Regions from separate parts of the Homo sapiens genome. Here regions 1, 2 and 4 are each linked to region 3. The links are contacts of gene promoters, found by promoter capture Hi-C in blood cells and fetal thymus (Javierre and others, 2016). All regions are on one chromosome and are shown on one strand. The core of a region is centred on a gene start or on the middle of the fragment in contact, and the rest is flanking DNA. Distances in the headings are between cores, read along the strand shown.

What was found. The method cuts DNA at HindIII sites, captures the fragments that hold promoters and counts their contacts. A CHiCAGO score of 5 or more calls a contact.
Region 1: a contact is called between a fragment that was not itself captured here and the fragment with the promoter of CUL2 in region 3, in 8 of 17 cell types (naive CD4 T cells, activated CD4 T cells, total B cells and 5 more). The highest score is 11.3, in naive CD4 T cells.
Region 2: a contact is called between a fragment that was not itself captured here and the fragment with the promoter of CUL2 in region 3, in 8 of 17 cell types (activated CD4 T cells, total CD8 T cells, naive CD8 T cells and 5 more). The highest score is 9.4, in activated CD4 T cells.
Region 4: a contact is called between a fragment that was not itself captured here and the fragment with the promoter of CUL2 in region 3, in 1 of 17 cell types (fetal thymus). The highest score is 5.0, in fetal thymus.

Annotation. Positions count from the first base shown.
Region 1 is chr10:35,380,406-35,383,257 of GRCh38, forward strand. The region is part of intron 1 of CCNY (cyclin Y); the gene reads left to right. Among named protein-coding and RNA genes, the nearest start is that of CCNY, 45 kb to the left of the region's middle. The HindIII fragment of the contact is 580 bases long and covers 1,307-1,886 here.
Region 2 is chr10:35,360,848-35,363,837 of GRCh38, forward strand. The region is part of intron 1 of CCNY (cyclin Y); the gene reads left to right. Among named protein-coding and RNA genes, the nearest start is that of CCNY, 26 kb to the left of the region's middle. The HindIII fragment of the contact is 2,889 bases long and covers 1-2,870 here.
Region 3 is chr10:35,088,816-35,092,007 of GRCh38, forward strand. It overlaps CUL2 (cullin 2), which reads right to left and starts at 1,526. Exons shown (of 21, transcript NM_003591.4): 1 at 1,364-1,526. RefSeq lists silencers at 1,297-1,426, 1,447-1,646, 1,700-1,888 and an enhancer at 1,807-1,946. The HindIII fragment of the contact is 6,346 bases long and covers 1-1,862 here.
Region 4 is chr10:34,819,921-34,822,951 of GRCh38, forward strand. No RefSeq gene overlaps it. Among named protein-coding and RNA genes, the nearest start is that of PARD3-DT, 5.7 kb to the left of the region's middle. The HindIII fragment of the contact is 5,325 bases long and covers 1-3,031 here.

The DNA.
Region 1 (2,852 bases), core at 347-2,846, 290 kb after region 3:
GAGAGTTTTAAAGCCCAAAGAGACCTTGGAGGTGATTATTTCTCTTACGTGTTGTATTTAAGGAACCTGATAATAACTAACTTCAAACATTTATTTCAGAAAGTTTCAAAACTATACAGAATTAAAGATAATAGTACGATGAGTCTCTATATTTCACCCAGATTTAGTAATTTTAAGATATTGCCCAGGTACAACTATCACATATAGAGCACTTCACATGCTTTACTTTTATCACCTCCCAATAGCCTTTTGGGGTTAGATACAAATATATTTCCTCTCTTGAAGATGAGAAAACTGACAGGCCCAGAGAGATTAAGAACCTTGCCTGGGGTCTCCCAGTCCGCAGCCAGCCGCCTGTGACTTCACCCTCTCTGCTGCACTGCCTGGAGAAGTTTTAAAGTTTGCCTGACATACACGGTCAGCTGAGGTCAGGCTAGAAGTGGAACCAAGAGATCTCACTCCTTCGTTGTTTCTTTTATTGTGATTTTCTGTGGCTTTTCTCTTTCCTTTATTCTTTTGATTCTTTTGCAACTGACTTTCTGGGCTTGAAGCGTCCGAGTACCATTTTAACTCTGATAGGCAGACAGCGGCATCCCAAGGCTGGGGTGGTGGGAGTGGTCTGCTCCAGTGCTGGTGATGAGGGGTGCATTGTCTGTGGAGGATTTAATAACAGTAATAAAAGCATCCAGAAGTCTGCCTGTAAAGTCTAAATGTCTAGAATTTTGCCTGCAGTTCTAAACAATGTCGGTGATATTCTTTCCCCCAAAATCTTTTGTTGGTGTTCTAAATAATTGCTTTATTGAGTTTTAATAATAGATACGTAAGCTTCAAGTGAGTACTTCTTGAGTACTTAGCCTTTAATAGATACTGTAGGCCGAGCGCCATGGCTCATGCCTGTAATCCCAGCACTTTGGGAGGCCGAGGCGGGTGGATCACCTGAGGTCAGGAATTTGAGACCAGCCGGGCCAACATGGTGAAACCCCGTCTCTACTAAAAATACAAAAAATTATCTGGATGTGGTGGCACGTGCCTGTAATCCCAGCTACTGGAGGGGGTGGGCTGGGACAGGAGAATTGCTTGAACCCGGGAGGTGGAGGTTGCGGTGAGCTGAGATTGTGCCATTGCACTCCAGCCTGGGTGACAGAGTGAGACTCCGTCTCAAAAAAAAAAAAAAAAAGAAATACTGTATGCAACATGGAGGTTAAATCTGACACTCCTGGTGTCAGATTAGCCCTAAACACATGGGGATTCAGCTGCTTGCATTCATTTCCAGAGTAACTTCTTAAGACTTTAGAATTGTTCAGAAAGCTTGCTTAGGACAGTCTTGTGTATTTAACTCTGTAGTATTACGTATATCTGTTTTTAAACAGTAGATTTGAAATAAATGATAGTGTTACTGATGACTATAATTGTCACTCTGTTTGATCACTTGGAGTTTTTGTCCAAGAGTCCTTAAAAATTACAACAGTGAAACAGAATGCAAACCATGAGGTGTAATATTTTTGCTTGGTAAGTGCAAAAATAATATCTGTAAAATTAAAACTTATCACATTTAAGACAGTTGTTTTAAAACTAAAGAACAAATCAAGAAAATAATAGTTACTGATTTTTACATAACTATTACTGAAAATAATTTTTTTCATACATGGAGGGTGTGTTAAAAAATATTCCTTCCTGGGTGTCTAATGTGTTAGATATGCCGTTGTAGGCGAAGGCTTTTTCTGTGATTCGTTTTTAAGTGAGGAGATTGAGAATCTTTCATATGTGCAACTGGAACCGTTAGGATAGGAAGAAAGTTACACAGGGCATTACTTGTACTGAAGGATTACTCTGTGTCTGAAATTGCTGGCACTTGGTACAGCTTTGTCTCACTTTGATATTTGTCAAGCTTCAGGCCTGTCTGCAGTGCTGACAGACTGTGTGTGCGACAGAGGCAAGAGCTCCTGCCGGCTCCTTTGCTTGGAGCATGCAAAGGGGGCTTGATGCCTTCTCTTGGGAGGGGGCCGTGGCGCCTTTGCAGTGGTAAGACCTCAGCCAGAACCCTGGCTTCTTGACTCTCATCTCCAGCATCACTTAGAACAGTGCTTCTCCATTGATTTTGCCCCCAGGGCACATTTGGCAAGGTCTGGAGACATTTTAGTTATCACCACTGGATGGGGGCTGCTATTGGCATCTTGTGGGTAAAGACATGACTCCTGCTAACTGTCCTGTGGTACACAGGACAGCCCCTCTACCCCTCCAGTAAAGAATTACCGGGCCCAGTTGTCCAGTAGTGCTGAGCTTGAGACACTGACTTAGGGCAAGTTACTTAAACTTGCATGGCCGGCTTCTTCATTTCCTCAAAATGGGAAAAATAACAGCAGTACTTTTCTCATAAGGTTGTTGTGAAAACTATGGGAGACAGTACATTTAAGAGCTCAGTAATTATAATTGTTGTTATTATTATGATTAACTTAGTGAAAATAAAATCCAAAAGGTAAAAAACAAACAAACAAACTGCTGCTGTGATATACTCATGACCAGTAGAGAGTCAACCATACTACACTCTGTGTACCCTTAGTACTACACAGCTGACCCTGAACACCTTGGGTCTGAGCCACATTAGTCCACTTATATGTGGATTGTTTTCAATTGAACATGGATCGAAAACGCAATATTTCGGGATGCAAAACCTGCGTGACCAAGAACTGCCTTTTTCTGTATCTGTGGGTTCTACAGCTCCGATGGGGAGACTTGAGCATGCACAGATTTTGGTGTTTGTCCAAATACCAGTCACCTGCAGATGACCTAGGGGTGACTGTAAATGGATAACAGTGCTTAGAATAATGACGTTGAATCAATATTCAGCGTAT
Region 2 (2,990 bases), core at 176-2,675, 270 kb after region 3:
TACCAAAATGCAGATTGTTTTGTTTTGTTTTGAGATGGAGTCTCACCCTGTCGCCCAGGCTGGAGTGCAACGGCACGATCTCAGCTCACTGCAGCCTCTGCCTCCCGGGTTTAAATGATTCTCCTGCCTCAGCCTCATGAGTAGCTGAGATTACAGACGCCCACCACCATGCCCAGCTAATTTTTGTATTTTTAGTAGACGGGGTTTCGTCATGTTGGTCAGGCTGGTCTCGAACTCCTGGCCTTGTGATCCCCCCGCCTCGGCCTCCCAAAGTGCTGGGATTACAGGCATGAGCCACTGCACCTGGCCCATAATGCAGGTATTTATTCATCCACTTATTTATTGTTTCATTTTCTCTCAGATATGTTATCTGTGTTTACATATATACCTGTGGATGTATATTTCTTTCATAATTGGGACCATGCTTTAAATATGACTTTATAATTTTTTTGTCTTATTATAAAAGTGTTGCCTCTAAACAATCTTCTAAAACATGATTATTAATTACCACAGGTAATACAAGGTACATCAATTCCACAATTTATTTAATCATGACAGTACTAATTATACTAGCATTAATTGAGTGCTTAGATTTAGATTTTGGTTCTTTAGGTTTTTTCTTTTAATTTTTTAAAAAACTCATACATAATATTTTGTTTGCCTGTGGGGGGCATTTCCTTATTTCTAAAAGTCAACTTTATGAGACAAAGGAATGAAACTTTTGATACTTACTGAGTAGGCAGGAACTGAATGTTATTTTTCAGGTGCATGTGATTAACTTTTAATATGGGTCTGAGAATCGGCATTCTGCTCACTGTCTTCACTAATTCTCTAAGAAAATATTAAGCATCTACTGAGAACCATATTACATTATGTAGATATTACAAAGATATATAAGACATGGCCTCTGATTTGTGGAGCACTAAATTGTAATTGTGAAAATGAGAAGTATGGGGCTGAGCATCCCTGATCTGAAAATCTGAAATCAGAAATGCTCCAAAATCTGAAACCTTTTAAAAATGTTTGCCCCCTCAACACACACACTTCAGCACCCAAAATCTGAAACCTTTTGAATGCCAACATGATGCCACAAGTGGAAAATTGCACACCTGACACTTTTGCTTTCTGATGGTTCACTGTACACACATTTGTTTCATGCACAAAATAAAACTAATGTATAAAATTACTTTCAGGTTATGTGTATAAGGTGAATGTGAAACAGAAATGAATTTTATGTTTAAACTGGAGCCCCATCCCCAAGTTTAAACAAATCTTCCAAAATCCAAAAAAAATTGAAATCCAAAACACTTCTGGTACCAAGCATTTTGGATAAGGGAGACTCAGCCTATATATACATTATCATTTAAGGCAGCATGTGATACATACTATGTTGTACAGAAGTAGGTGCTAAAATCAAATAAAAAAGAGTGTGCAATAAGATGTGCAAGGTGGAACAGGTGACTTTTGGCCTGGGTGATCTGGGACAGTTTCATGGAGAGAGAGATTGAGTACTGGGTCTTTTGGTTGGGTGGTTCTTGCAAATAGAACATTTCTGGCAGTAGGGAAGGCAGTAGGAAAGTCCTCCAGGTGACAAAGTACAGGATGTATTTGGGTCTTGGCAACTGAATTTACTTAAAGACAGGGAGGATAGTCCAGACGAGGCTTGGGCCACTTGCAGCCTAAGAGGTCCATGTCGTGTAGGGACCTGAATGCCAAGCTAGAGGGTACCAGTTTTTTTTTTTAATTCTCCAATTTAAAACTTTTAATTAAAAAGTAAACTTTAATGTCAAAAATGCAAACTTTGGAGAGGGCAGAAAGATCACACACAAGGCTGTCACTTCACACTTGGAGGGTTGCACAGCAGCCAGAGGCGCTCCTCACTTCCCAGACGGGGCTGCGGCCAGGCAGAGGCGCTCATCACATCCCAGAGGGTGTGGGGGCCGGCCAGAGGCGCTCCTCACTCCCCAGATAGTTGGCGGGGGGGCCAGGCAGAAGCACTCCTCACTTCCCAGACAGTGGGGCAGCCAGGCAGAGGTACTCCTTGCTTCCCAGATAGGGCGGCAGCCGGACAGAGGCGATCCTCACTTCCCAGATGGTCGGTGGCCGTACAGAGGCGCTCCTCACTTCCCAGACAGGGCGGCGGCCGGGCGGAGACGCTCCTCACTTCCCAGGTGGTGGGCCGCCGGCGGCCGGGCGGAGACGCTCCTCACTTCCCAGATGGTGGGCCGCCGGGCAGAGGCGCTCCTCACTTCCCAGCTTGTGAGGTGGCCGGCAGAGGCACTCCTCACTTCCCAGACGGTAGGGTGACCAACAGAGGTGGTCCTCACTTCCCCGACGGGGCGGCAGCTGGGCAGAGGCGCTCCTCACTTCCCAGACGGTGGAGTGGCCGGCAGAGGCGCTCCTCACTTCCCCGACAGGGCGGTAGCTGGGTAGAGGCACTCCTCACTTCCCAGACGGTTGGGGGGCCGGGCAGAGGCGCTCCTCTCTTCCCAGACAGTGGGGCGGCCGGGCAGAGGTGCTTCTCACTTCCCAGGTGGTTGGGGGGCCGGGCAGAGGTGCTCCTCTCTTCCCAGACGGTGGGGCTGCCGGGCAGAGGTGCTCCTCTCTTCCCAGACGGTGGGGCGGCCTGGTAGAGGCGGGGATACCAGATTTTGGGGTAGTAGGCTTACCTGATCAAAGTGACCCTGGAAGATTAATATGCTGGAGATGTGGGAACTAGATGGGAATGGGAAAAGACTGAATCAGTGAGATCAGCTCTGTTGGTTCTGTGTAGTGGGGTTATTGGATTGGAAAGGGAGTTGTAGAAGCAAGTCTGGTGTTGTCACTCCGCCCCACGACCTCCCCGAGACTGACACTGTCAGTCAGAGGAAAGCTTTTAAAAGTTTTCGTATTCCCTGCCTACCTGGCACTGAGTAGGTATGAAATCATTGTTGAAAGAGTGAGTGAACCAGCAATATAATTTTGTGCCTGAAGGTGCAGAGAGAGGGAGG
Region 3 (3,192 bases), core at 276-2,775:
ATGTGCATGCACATTGTAGAAATGTTCCCCCAACTCATAAACAGCAATTGAAAAAAACAAGTAATTCAAAACACTGTGGGCTGGGCGCAGTAGCTCAGGCCTGTAATCCCAGCACTTTGGGAGGCCTAAGCAGGCGAATCACCTGAGGTCAGGAGTTCAAGACCAGCCTGGCCAACATGGTGAAACCCCATCTCCACTAAAAATACAAAATTAGCCGGGCATGGTGGCGCATGCCAGTAATCCCAGCTACATGGAAGGCTAAGGCAGAAGAATTGCTTGAACCCGGGAGGCGGAGGTTGCAGTGAGCCGAGATCGCACCACTGCACTCCAGCCTGGGTGACAAGAGCAAAACTCCATCTCAAAACAAAAAAACTGTGTACTTCTCTTATCTCACGCGACTCTTTTGGAAGGATCTTCCAGATACTGTATAAGGGCAAAAGAAGCAAAGTATAGCTCATTTGTTCATGTGTCTGTCTTGAAAAGGAATGTAAGATTCTAAAGGGTAGGCAACAGTGTTTTGAATGTTTTTAAGCGATTATTATGTAGTCAGTTGTCAATCAGATCAAAGTGATTATTTCCGATACTTTACTACGAAGGTAGGCTTGGCCAGGTCTAGTTCAAAGACGTTTATGTTGAACAGTCACAATCTATAGCGAACGTTAATATTTTGCATCTTATCTTCAAAATTTAAACGCCCAGGGTACTGGCCTTCAACTGTTAATATTAATCCATGGGGCAAAGATGTGGACTTAACATTAATAACAGTCTGCAATTCACAGATGTTTTATTTGCATGCACGTAATGGTAGGGAATGGTCCAGACTCTCTAGAGGGTAAGCAAGTGCTAGAAAGCGTGTGAGGATCTTATTTCACCAGACCCTAAGGGTTGAGACAAGAAGTCTAGCATGCACGTAGGATACTCCTCCCCAAAGCTATCAATCTTTGCAGTCTGCGGAAACAAAAGTGAAAACACTCGGGGTAAGGATGCATGAGATGCCCCCCCCCACACACACACACAAACACACAGAGTTGTGTATTCGTGTGAGCACGTAAATATGTAGAAGAATACACGCACTCTCACCTTCCCTCCTTCGAAGGAAAATGGGGCCGCGGGAGAGGCGGCCAAGATCGGGTTGGGGAGGCCCGGGATCCAGTCCAGGGGGTGGCAGGGCTTACGGGTCAGCGCTCTGGGGAGCCGAGGTCACTTACAGGATACCATCTTCCCGGGCCTCCCCCTTTCATCCCTCTCCCCACACCTCGTCGCCCCCAACTCCTCTCCTCCGCCCCAGCCCCGCCACCCATTAACCGGGAAGGGAAGTTTCCCGGCGCCTGCAGCCCGGCTCCCCGACCCTCAGCGGGGTTACCTTCTGCAGAAGCAGGGCAAGGGGCAGGGGACAAGGGGAGGGGGAGGCAGCCCGAAGGAGTGAAAGACGAAGCCCCGGCGAGGAAGGTGGGCGGAGGCGGCGGCGGCGGCGGCTGTCAGCTCGCGTTCCCCTGCTCACAGCGCTGCCATTACTGTGCGCCGAGGCCGCCTCCCCGGCCGGCCGCCGCCACCGGCCCCGGAGACGCGGGGGGTGGGGAGCGAAGCCCGGGGAGCCCGCGCGCCGACACTCACCTGTCTCCGCGAGGAAAGACAGCAAAGTCCAAGGCCGCCGCCGCTCCCCGGCGGGACAGGGGCGGTAGGGAGGGGGGGAAAGGGGAGAAGGACGGGCCGATCACGGGATCCGTAAAACAATCGTCCTCCTCTGCCTCCGGCTTTGCCCAACACACACCCTCCGGTCTCCTTCTTCCGCTGCTGCCAAATCCCCCCCGCCACCCGGAAAGCAATGGTACAGGCCGCGTTACGGCAAGCGCAGGGAGCCAAGCTTCGTGTGATTGCGAAAGGCCACGGAAATTAATATTCCAAGTGATTCCTTGCTGGGCTTGCTGTCAATGAGGCAATTGCGGTTCGCTGAGCTGATGGACACAGTACCCACCCACTACCCGTTAGTTCAGGGACTGCTAATAACAATATGTTGGAATGGTGCTTTCAACAGAAGTATGTTTTCCTTGTTTCAGACCTATGTGAATATCCTAAGACACCACAATCCTCTTGCCACACACTTCCATGGGCTTTGCAAATGATCAAAAATAAATTAGCAAAACTACTTTTCCTCTCTGACAAACTCTTTTTCTTGTTAGTTTTTATCTACAGAGAATTTCTTGGACATACATGTATTTTCGATAAAGAAACTTCACATCTTTTTCACTAATACCCCACCTTCACCAAGCCCCAAGCCTATCAGTTTGAAGGGTTTTCCTCCCTTGGAGTTTTAAACGGTAAAGCTGATAAAAATATAGAATTACTCATCACCTCCTCATATATGCAGGGCCACAGAGGAACAAAAGCCCGGCCTTAGTGCTTTTTGCCTTTCATATCCTCAAGAGCTCACCATCAGGGTCTTGTTCATTTATACGATTCAGCAAGCTTTTCCCTCCCATCCCTTCCTTCCAAACTGCACGAACCCTTCAAGGCCCATTTAAAACCCTGCCTCCAGACCTGATCAGTCCCTAGAGCCTTCCTCCTCTTCTAATCTGCTTCTCTTGGTACTTGAAGTCTCTACTCTTTATTTCAGTAAAGGGTTTTTATATACGAAATTCAATCCAACAGTATGTTTCCATTATGTGACCTTTTTTTCCTCCCATGTTTTCCCCCTTTTAATCTAGTGATTCTCAAAGTGTGGTCCCCAGACCTCTGGAAATCCCTGAGACCTTTACAGAGGTCATAAGGTTAACAACTAGTTTGTTAACAATGCAATATGTCTGGTCCTTTTTTTTTTTGGATACAGAGTCTTGCTCTGTCACCCAGGCTGGAATGCAGTGGCGGCACAATCTCAGCTCACTGCAACCTGCACCTCCCGGGTTCAAGTGATTCTCCTGTCTCAGCTTCCCGAGTAGCTGGTATTACAGAAGCCCGCCACCACACCCGGCTAATTTTTTGTATTTTGTAGAGACAGGGTTTCACCATGTCACCACATTGCCCAGGCTGGTCTTGAACTCCTGAGCTCAGGCAATCCACCCACCTCAGCCTCCCAAAGTGCTAGGATTACAGGCCTGAGCCACCGTGTCAGGCCCCCCCTGCTTTTTGTTTTGTTTTGTTTTTGTTTTTGACACAGGGTCTCCCTCTGTCGCTGAGGCTGGAGTGCAGGAGTGC
Region 4 (3,031 bases), core at 262-2,761, 270 kb before region 3:
ACCTTGACTGGAGGCAGGATTTGGAAAGTCCAGTGATATGAAGAGGTGCTTCGTGGTGATGCTTTATAAATGCCAGTTCTAGCTGAGCATGGTGGCTCATGCCTGTAATTGCAGACTTTGGGAGGCTGAGGTAGGAGGATCACTTGAGCCCAGGAGTTTGAGACCAGCCTGGGTAACATAGTGAGACTCTATCTATACGAAAGTTAAAAATTAGCTGGGTGTAGTGGCAAACACCTGTGGTTCCAGCTATGAGGCTGAAGGATCACTTGAACCCAGGAGTTTGAGGCTGCAGTGAGCCATGATCATGTCCCTTCACTCCAATCTGGACGACAGAGTGACACACTATCTCAAAAAATAAAATAGGGCCGGGCACAGTGGCTCACGCCTATAATCCCAGCACTTTGGGAGGCCAAGGCAGGTGGATCACCTGAGGTCGGGAGTTCAAGACTAGCCTGGCCAACATGGTGAAACCTCGTCTCTACTAAAAATATAAAAAATTAGCTGGGTGTTGTGGCAGACACCTGTAATCCCAGCTACTGGTGAGGCTGAGGCAGGAGAATTAGTTGAACCCAGGAGGCGGAGGTTGCAGTGAGCTGAGATGGCACCATTGCACTCCAGCCTGGGCAATAAGAGTGAAACTCCGTCTCAAGATAAATAAATAAAATAAAATATAAATGCCAGTTATTTCAGCCTAATCTTTGAGAGGGAAGTTCAGAGTCAAGTTCTTCGGTGAGGCTTAGAGTGCTGGCCTTCTAGGTTGCTGGGGGAAGCCAAAGGTGCAGGTAGTAAGATTGCTGCTATTTGGGGGAATTTCAGCATTTGAACCAGGATTCTCTGGTGGGTAAAAGTCCATCCTGCCTTCCCTCTGAGGCAGGCATGGCTTTATCAGGAACATAAGGTACTGAAAGTTAATTGGATGTGGTGGCTTACACCTGTAATTGCAGCTACATGGGAGGCAGAGGTGGGAGGATCACTTGAGCCCAGAAGTTCAAGACCTACAGAAAGTTAAAAATTTGGCCAAGCATGGTGGTGCATGCCTGTAGTACCAGCTACCTGGAAGGCCAAGGTGGGAGAATTGCTTGAGCCCAGGAGTTGGAGGCTGCAGTGAGCTATGATTGCACTGTTGGACTCCAGCCTGGGAGAGAGAGTGAGACCCTATCTCTATAAAAAGACAAAAAAAAAAAAAAAAAGTACCAAAAGTTTTTTTTTTCTCTTTCTCTCTCTCCCTCTCTCTCTCTCTCCTTTAAAAAACTTTGAGAATGCCTGGGCGTGGTGATTCATGCCTATAATCCCAACACTTTGGGAGGCCGAGGCAGGCGGATCACCTGAGGTCAGGAGTTCGAGACCAGCCTGGCCAACATGGCAAAACCCTGTCTCTACTAAAAACACAAAAAGTAGCCAGGCGTGGTGACAGGCGCCTGTAATCCCAGCTACTTGGGAGGCTAAGGCAGGGAGAATCCCTTGAACCCAGGAGGCGGAGGTTGCAGTGAGCCGAGATTGCACCATTGCACTCCAGCCTGGGCGACAGAGCGAGACTCTGTCTCAAAAAAAAAAAAAATTAAATGGCTCAAATTCTCAAATCCTGAAAGAATCTGGATGGGTAGGAGAAACAGCTGGAGCCTATAATCCCAGCTACTGAAGAAGCTGAGGCAGGAGGATCATTTGAGCCCAGGAGTTCAAGGCTGCAGTGAGTTATGATGGCACACTGCAGTGTAGCCTGGGCAACAGAGTGAGACCCATCTGAAAGAAAGGAAGAAAGAGAGAAAAGAAAGAAAGAAAGAGAGGAAAGGAGAGAGAAGGAAAGAAAGAGAAAGAAAGAAAGAAGAGAGAAAGAGGAAGGAAGGAGAGAGAGAGAAAAGGGAAGGAAGGAGAAAGAAAGAAAGAAAAAGAAAGAAAGAAAAAGAGAAAGAAAGAAGAGATAAAGAGGAAGGAAGAAGGAGAGAGAAAAGGAAGGAAGGAAAAAGAAAAGAAAGGAAGGAAGGAGGGAGGGAGGGGAGGGAGGAGAAGAAAGGAAAGGAAAAGAAAGCAAAGGAAAGAAGGGGAGGAAAATAAAGAGAAAGAAAAATAAGGAAAGAAAAGGGGAGGGAGGAAGGGAGGGAGGGAGAGGGAGGGAGGAAGGAAGGAGGGAAAAGGAAGGAAGGAAAGAAAAAGAAGGGAGGGAGGAAGGGAGGGAGGGAGGAAAGAAAAGAAAGAAAAGAAAAAGAAGTGAGGGAGGGAGGAAGGAAGGAAGGCAGGCAGGAAGGATGGCCCTATCTGGGTTTCCAGCCTCAAGCCTCTCCAGCACTGCCTCCAACCTACCTGGAGCAGGAAAGTCCTCTTCCCAATAGGTTCTCCAGAACCAGACCTACGGGTGTCAGAGGAGGCGAGTGGCTTTGAGGCTGCTTCAGATGAGGCCCAGGGCCCCGGGCCCCTGACATTCTGTGTAATAATTCTGGTATGCTGTACCAGTGCACATCCAGCCCCAGTAATCCCCTGTACCTGATTTTAAATGGCTGACTCATCCCTCCCCACTCTGTCAAGTTACCCTATTAAGCCGGGAGTTCAATTTCAAAAACTCTCTATGGTGCTTTGGAATTTCATTCGCTCAGTGTCGTGGCAGAGGCACCATGCTTGTTCCAGCTGGGGAGGTTTACTTGGATGGAACACCAGGCAGTAGATCTGCAGTGGTAGATCCAGAACCCACAGAAATCTTTCGTTGTTGTTGTTGTTATTGTTGTTTTTGGAGGCAGTATCTTGCTCTGTACCCCAAGCTAGAGTGCAGTGTCACAATCATAGCTCACTGCAGCCTCGAACTCCTAGCTTCAAGCAATCCTCCTGCCTCAGCCTCCAAAATAGCTAGGACTTCAGGTGTGTTCCACCATGCATGGATTTTTTTTTTTTTAATTTTTTTGTAGAGATAGGGTCTTCCTATGTTGTCCTGGCTGGTTGTAAAGTGGTCCTCCTGCCTCAGCCTCCCAAAGTGCTGGAATTACAGGTGTGAGCCACTGCGTCCAGCCTTTCTTTCATCTATCTATCTATCTATCTATCTATC